Linked DNA regions of Homo sapiens: region 1 is linked to region 2. The links are contacts of gene promoters, found by promoter capture Hi-C in blood cells and fetal thymus (Javierre and others, 2016). All regions are on one chromosome and are shown on one strand. Each heading gives the region's core, a stretch centred on a gene start or on the middle of the fragment in contact. The rest is flanking DNA. Distances are from core to core; before and after follow the strand shown. Region 1 holds the start of NOSIP (nitric oxide synthase interacting protein). Region 2 holds the start of SIGLEC7 (sialic acid binding Ig like lectin 7).

Region 1 (3,869 bases), core at 1,057-3,556, 1.6 Mb before region 2:
AGTAGCTGGGATTATAGGTGCCAGCCACCATGACCAGCCAATTTTTGTATTTTTAGTAGAGATGAGGTTTTACCATGTTGGCCAGGCTGGTTTCGAACTCCTGACCTCAGATGATCCACCTGCCTTCACCTCCCAAAGTGCAAGGATTACAGGCATGAGCCACTGTGCCTGCCCAATGGGGATTTTTAAAACAGGTAGCTGGCAGGATTTGAGTTTGGTCTGTAGAACATAATTAGCTGATCCCTGGCATGAGGAAACAAGTAAAATGAGGCCGGGCTCAATGGCTCACACCTGTAATCTAAGCACAGCACTTTGGGAGGCCAAGGCAGGAGGATCGCTTAAGCCCAGGAGTTTGAGACCAGCCTGGGCAACATAGTGACACCTTGTCTCTATCTATTTTTTCTTTTTTTTTTTTGAGACAGAGTCTCACTCTGTCGCCCAGGCTAGAGTGCAGTGGCGTGATCTCGGCTCACTGCAAGCTCTGCCTCCCGGGTTCACGCAATTCTCCTGCCTCAGCCTCCTGAGTAGCTGGGACTACAGGTGCCTGCCATCATGCCCGGCTAAGGGGTTTCACCGTGTTAGCCAGGATGGTCTTGATCTCCTGATCTCATGATCCGCCCGCCTTGGCCTCCCAAAGTGCTGGGATTACAGGCATGAGCCACTGTGTCTGGCCTATTTTTAAATACTTAAAAAAAAAAAGAAAGAAAACAGAAGCAGGTAAAATGAGACCACAAAAAAGCAAACGGGACAAATTCAGATGGTGGGATGATCAACTGAACTAGAATTAGTTTCTTCAATGAATCGATTACACCAAGAAATAACCAAAGTGGAGTGGAAGGGGGAACAGTTCTAAATTAAGAGAGATGTAAAAGACGATAGCAATTACTTAACTATATCCTGATTCCAACAAACCCACAGTTACACTGGACTTGACTCTGCACCACGTAATGGATAGTAGTCTAGAATTACGGTTGTTCTTTTAAAGTGTGATGATGGTATTGTGGTCATATCAGCAATGTTTCTGGTTTTTACACACGCACCCTGTTAGATAAAATTTATAGAAGGTCATTGGTTTGGATTGAGCTCCTGCACTAGGTTCAACAGACCAAACCAAAATGGAGACACTCATGCTAAAGTTCCATGCTTCCAAGCCAAAACTAAGTTGATATCTGATCTTCTGAGATATCAGGAGAGAGATAATAGCCAAATCCCCAAACAACCCAGTTTTAGCCCACCTGATAAAGGAAGTCCCCTCTACTTTAACCTTTAACTTAGAAATTTAATCAAGTTAATCAATTTAATCAACTAGCTTTTTGTTTTCCGTTTCTGATTTTCTCAGCCCTTTGTCTCTGAAAACAACCTCTGCTCAGCTCATCGGAACACTCACGCTATTTTCCATAATTAGATGTTGTTTGATTGTAGATTCACGAATAAATGCCAATTAAGATCTTCTCACTAAATGTGTTGCAATTTTGTCTTTTGACAATCCTTAAGTGTCATGATGCCTACGATTTGTTTTAATCTCTTTAAGTTTAAAAAAATACAGCAAGTATGGCAAAAATAATCATTGGTGATTTGGGTGACAGGAATTCCTGTATTCTTCTCTCACTTTTATATAAGTTTGAACATTTTCGTAAGAAAACATTAACATCAAACTGCCTCAAGGACCGTTCAAGCCCCAAGTTCACAGAATTAGCAGCACAATCAGAATGGGAATCCATGACTGCCTGACCCCGAAGCTCCACACAAGAAAACGTGAATCCCTGCACCAACCCCGAAAGGGAAGGGGCTGTCAAAAAGGTGAAGAGAAGGTGGCGATGGATGACTGCACAATCTAGTATCGCCCGCCGTCCCACCACAGTCTGAGAAACTGAGGCCAGGAAAGGAGTTCTCCCTCCTCAACTCCCACTCCTTAGACCCCCAGCAATCCCAGTCCACTCCTTCCCTTGGGACCACCAGCAAATAGCCATCATCTACAGCAGAACTGTAACTCTCAGGAGAACTGGCCGATGCTAGCTACCACTTGACTGAGTTTATAGTGAGAGAGAGAGACAAAGAGAGAGAGAACTGCCCGATGGACGGTTGGCCACCTCCAGCAGAGTGTAGTTCAGCTTCAAACTTGGGGCGCCCGGACAGCTGTATTAATAATGATTGACAGGGAATCGGGAATCCAAAATCTTGCCCCAGTCTCCCTCAAGACCCCAGGCCTCTAGCCCGCAGGAAAGCGATCCCAGCAACACTCTTCCTGCACCGCCTCGAACTCACCTCACTAACGACTCCCAGTCCCTCGGTCGCTTCTTCAACTGTGCCCCGACACCGGAAAGGAGCACTATTTTCCCCCTCCGCTCCGCCCACTTCCGCCCAGCAGAAGGCACCGGAAGTAGAGCTGCCCCTAGTTGCGGAAGTGCCTCGCCTGGCTTGCTCAAGTCCTCTCTTCTCTTTCTCTCTCCGGAAACGTGAGTAGCTAATCGAAAGTTCCGGATATTGAAACTGGTGGGAATATGGGGAACGCTTACTATGTACGAGGCATTTCCCAGGGAGATCGTTTTTTCCTGCTTGGTTCCCAGGTTTTGAGTCTCTCCAAGCCCAAATTTAAGGACTAATCACTTCCCCTAGAGATCGGGAAGCCCACTTTCCCAAATATATCATCCACTTTTCTTGCTGCATCTTAAAACAATTGAGAAGAGACAACTACGCTCCCATTTTACAGACAGAGCCATTGGGAAATTGAAAATCAAAGCCGTTCAAGTCGCTCTCAGGAAACAGGGATTTACTGCGGCACTGCCCAGCTGTCCCAGGGACTAAGGCATATCGTTCCCGCTAGTTTCTAGATACCTAGAGACCTAGATATTAATTTTTCTAGCTCGGACAGACGAACTCCCAGGGGAGAGCCAGAGCGGGTAGGGGTCGGGAGGGAGGAGGAGGGTCGAATCTAATCCCCCAGGTATCCCATGGTATTCGACACCTTGGCTTCCTCATGGAGCTCTGGCCTTTAAGTCCTTTATCCCAAGGTCCCTTTAAATACTTTGTCCCTTACCTGAGTCCCGCCCAGGGCAGGTAATGGCAAGTTCCGCCCACCTGCCAGAAACGGGGATCAGGCCTGGTTACCGGGAGTGGGGCGCCCCTCCTCCTTATCCCCTCCCCTCTTCCCTGTCCCCTTTCACAGCTGGCTGTAGCTGGCCAAGGAGTTCTCGATTAAAGAGGAAGGGGCAGTGCTCACATTTCTGGGCAGGTAAGTGAATGTCCCTGGAGGAAGAGCCTGGCTTGGGGACCCAGGCATCCTGGCTCCCCGCCCCTCCGAGACCCAGAAGTTTGGGGCTCCTAGGCCCAGGAGTCCAGGGCCCCTGCCCACTTAGGTCCCTAGACCCAATAATATAACTAATCCCCTGCCTCTGCCTCTCTCGTAATCTTTGTTGTCTGTGGGTGGATGTGACAATGAGCACAGAAAGAGGCACAAGTGGAAATTACCAGGAAGGGAAGACTCCAGATCACCAGTGGACATGTTTATAAGCATCTGTGTCAGGTGCTGTAGACACAGTGGGGAAAGAAAGATAAGCTGCCTGCTCCTTGCTTTCTTCTCTGGCGGACACTGCCTTCACTGAAATCCTGGCTCTCACACTTGCACACTGTGTGACCTTCGGCAAGCTATATTACCTCTCTGTGCCTCAGTTTCCTGTTCTCTATACTGGGGATAATAATAGGACTCCTGGTCGGGCGCAGTGGCTCACACCTGTAATCCCAGCACTTTGGGAGGCCGAGGCGGGTGGATCACTTGAGGTCAGGAGTTTGAGACCAGCCTGGCCAACATGGTGAAACCCCATCTCTACTAAAAATACAAAAAATTAGCCAGGCGTGGTGGTGCGCACCTG
Region 2 (3,917 bases), core at 24-2,523:
AATTAATAAAATCTCTTTCTTCATTTCAAGGGACAGACTTGACAGTTCTTTTGTGTTCTAGTTCTTCAAGGGTGCTTATTTTGTGTGAATCACTGAGTTGGTTTTTAGGGGACACTTTTATGTACATGTCTTGTGTTTCTCCCCGCTCAAAAAAAACTGTTTCAAGAAAAGCTGGCCTGGATCTAAGGGGGCTGCAGCTTGCAGGATTTTTCCCACTTCCTCCCAGCCCAGTCACACAGTTTAAAATAATCTTCTGTTGAAGTCAGGTGCGTGTTTCTTCTCTCAGAAAATCGCGCCCATCACTGAGGGTGGACGCCCCGGGGCTGGTGTCTTTGCTCCACGTCTCCTGTTCACCTGAACCCCTAGGAGCAGTTCCTGCAGGAGCAAAGCCCCAGGGCCAGCAGACCCCTCACACTCTGCACTAACCAGGCCTCATGAGATAGCAGTGGTGAAGGGAAATGTCCTTGTGCTCAGAGAGCTGTGAGGATGGGAATAGTGTCTGCTCTTTTCATATTGATCCTTTCCCTTATGACTTTCCTGTCTACCAAGCCCCACAATACAACAATCACAGCCTCAGCTTCCCCGGCCTCCTGCAGGCTGGGCTCCCCTCCGTGTCCTTGGCGTGTATCAACAGGCGCAATCCTCACCTTCACAGCCCCATGTCCGTCTGCTCGGTCCTCCTGAGACTGAACCCCCGACCTAGGGGAGAGTGACCCCACCCTGCCTGTGCCCCCCACTGAAGCTCCTGTCATGGGGAGCTCAAACGTCAGGAGACTCAGTGTCTCCCCACCACACAGTGACTCCTTGGGGACAGTGTCCGGCTCTGCTGTGTTGACCTCATTGTGCAGAAAGGGGGTGCCCACCTCGTGGCTGCTGAGGGAGGGATGAGAGGCTGCCTGTTCACCCCACCTGCACCCCTGTCTCTCATGGCCCCGAGTCCCACTTCTGAGCTACGCAGACATCCACAGCCTGTGACTCAGGGGTCTGGGCAGATGGGAGTTATTTTCACCCTGCAGAAAATATCACCTAAAGGGAAAGGCATTGAGAGGGAGGCAGGAGGTGGGGTGGGCCCTGCATGGGGTGGGAATCTGGGTGAGTCTGTCTCCCGCTCTGGCCTCAGGGACCCAGGAGTGAATGTCGGGTGGTGGACGGTGGATCTCCCAGGGCTGACCCAGCCCTGACAGTGTCTGTGTGTGAAGTTCTTCTTCTAAGGAGGTCACTGTTTTGACCTCACCACCGACTTCCTGTAGGGCCTCTTCTAAGTCTTGAGCCCGCAGTTCCTGAGAGAAGAACCCTGAGGAACAGACGTTCCCTCGCGGCCCTGGCACCTCCAACCCCAGATATGCTGCTGCTGCTGCTGCTGCCCCTGCTCTGGGGGAGGGAGAGGGTGGAAGGACAGAAGAGTAACCGGAAGGATTACTCGCTGACGATGCAGAGTTCCGTGACCGTGCAAGAGGGCATGTGTGTCCATGTGCGCTGCTCCTTCTCCTACCCAGTGGACAGCCAGACTGACTCTGACCCAGTTCATGGCTACTGGTTCCGGGCAGGGAATGATATAAGCTGGAAGGCTCCAGTGGCCACAAACAACCCAGCTTGGGCAGTGCAGGAGGAAACTCGGGACCGATTCCACCTCCTTGGGGACCCACAGACCAAAAATTGCACCCTGAGCATCAGAGATGCCAGAATGAGTGATGCGGGGAGATACTTCTTTCGTATGGAGAAAGGAAATATAAAATGGAATTATAAATATGACCAGCTCTCTGTGAACGTGACAGGTAAGGCACGGGCTCCAAGAGAGGCCAAAGGCAAATGTGATGAGGGCTTTAGGGCACGGCTGAGACGGGACACATGTCCTGGGAGGGGGCCGGGGGTGATGGACTCAGGAGAGGAGCTGGACCAGAGCCTGAGCTTCCCCAGGACCGCACCTTGGATGCCCCTCCTGATCCTGCAGGCCCCTCCCCTCACCAGCCCTGACCCACAGGCCTGACATCCTCATCCTGCCTCTGACGCTGGCATTGTGGCATGTGGGGCCTTATGACTCCTTGTTTTGGGGCCTGTCCTAGGCATGGCCGGGGTTTAGCACCATCCCAGGCCTCTCCCCACCAGATGCCAGAAGCACCCACTCCACCCATGCAGTGAGACAATAACAATTATCTCCACACATTGTTAAACGTCCTGGGGGGTTAAGTCCTCCCCAGTTGAGAGCCTTAGGTCTACACAACCCCGTGACTCTCTCAGGCCAGGCCAGGGAGGAAGCACTTCCTGGCGCAAACCAAGGGCAGCAGAGGCACCTGAGCCTGGACAGGGAGACTCAGCACACGGCCCCTCCATCTCTCATGCCCTGAGGTCCTCGGAGATCCACATTTAGATGCTCAAAAGACAGGAGGGACCTCCACGATGGTCCAGAGGCCGGGAGGGCAGGACCTACGTGTCTGGTGCAGGCCCTGGTGCTCCAGGGAAGCCCGGAGGTAGGAGGTGGGACACGGTCTCTTCTCCTCCCTGGGTGGGTCTCTAGGGTCTCTGAGCTTCAGGGTTTCCTTCACTCTGTGCAGAGGGAACCAGTTCCTATAGCATGTGGGTTTGTAGTTTCTCTTTCGTGCTGGGTTGAGGTCTCCAGCTCCTCTCCAGCCCCTCTCCAGCCCCCTGTGGGTCCCACAGCCCTGCCCCTCCTCTCCCTCCCACTTCTCTGCTCACACAAGGAGCCCAGGAACCCTCTGTCTCAGAGATGCTGCTGCCTCTCTTGTGGGCAAATGAAGAGAGGGACAGTCGGGGCTGGGCTGAGCCTCATTTCCCCACAGCGTCCCAGGCCCCACTGTCAAGATACAGGCTGGAGGTGCTGGAGTTGGTGATGGTGCAGGAGGGCTAGTGCGTCTCTGTGCCCTGCAGTGTCCTTTAACCCTATTACAACTGAACTGACTCTAGCCCTGTCCATGGATGCTGGTTTAAGAAAGGGATCAATATACAATGGAATAATCCAGTGGCCACAAACATCCCAAATGGAAAAGTGCAGGAGACACGGGGCCGATTCCACCTCCTTGGGGACCTGAAGACCAACAACTGCTCCCTGAGCATCAGAGATGCCAGGAAGGGGGATTTGAGGAACTACTACTTCCAGGTGGAGAGAGGACAGATAAGATGGAATTACAAAACGAAGCAGCTCTCTGTGAATGTGACAGATAAGGCACAGGCTCCAGGAGACACCACAGGGAAAGGTCATGGGGGTGGCAGCGAAAGCCTGGGATGGGGCCCCTGCCCTGGGAGAGGGCTGAGGGTGAAGCGAGTTGGGCTCAGGGCAGAAGCTGAACCAGAGCCTGAGCTTCCCCCAGGGCTGTACCATGGATCCTCTGTCCTGATCCTGAGTCCCCCTCTCTTCACCAGCCTTGACCCACAGGCCCAACATCCTTATCCCCGGTACCCTGGAGTCTGGCTGCTTCCAGAATCTGACCTGCTCTGTGCCCTGGGCCTGTGAGCAGGGGACGCCCCCTATGATCTCCTGGATGGGGACCTCTGTGTCCCCCCTGCACCCCTCCACCACCCGCTCCTCAGTGCTCACCCTCATCCCACAGCCCCAGCACCACGGCACCAGCCTCACCTGTCAGGTGACCTTGCCTGGGGCCGGCGTGACCACGAACAGGACCATCCAACTCAATGTGTCCTGTGAGTGCTGAGCCAGGACGCCCTGGTCCCTGATGAGGGGGGGACGTCCCTGAGGGCAGAGGATGGGGTCAGGGCTCGACACTGGGTGCTGGGTCCCAGAATCTGGGCTGGTTGTGGGATCAGGAGGACGCTGGCTCCGCCTTCCCCATTTATGCAGCTCCTGGGGAGACAGGGCCAGTGTCCCCAGCCCTCACAGTGATGCAGGTCTCCATGTCTTTCTGTCCCAGACCCTCCTCAGAACTTGACTGTGACTGTCTTCC

Evidence for each region. Contacts are between HindIII fragments. The CHiCAGO score rates a contact against its expected background, and 5 or more counts as called.
Region 1: the fragment with the promoter of NOSIP here is called in contact with the fragment with the promoter of SIGLEC7 in region 2 in 1 of 17 cell types (neutrophils); the score reaches 6.2 in neutrophils.

What each region holds. Positions count from the first base shown.
Region 1 is chr19:49,578,250-49,582,118 of GRCh38, forward strand. It overlaps NOSIP (nitric oxide synthase interacting protein), which reads right to left and starts at 2,307. Exons shown (of 9, transcript NM_001270960.2): 1 at 2,266-2,307. PRRG2 (proline rich and Gla domain 2) reads left to right here and starts at 3,067. Exons shown (of 7, transcript NM_000951.3): 1 at 3,067-3,232. The HindIII fragment of the contact is 25,862 bases long and covers 1-3,869 here.
Region 2 is chr19:51,141,028-51,144,944 of GRCh38, forward strand. SIGLEC7 (sialic acid binding Ig like lectin 7) reads left to right here and starts at 1,274. Exons shown (of 7, transcript NM_014385.4): 1 at 1,274-1,775; 2 at 3,379-3,657; 3 at 3,885-3,917. The coding sequence starts at 1,343. The HindIII fragment of the contact is 9,764 bases long and covers 1-3,917 here.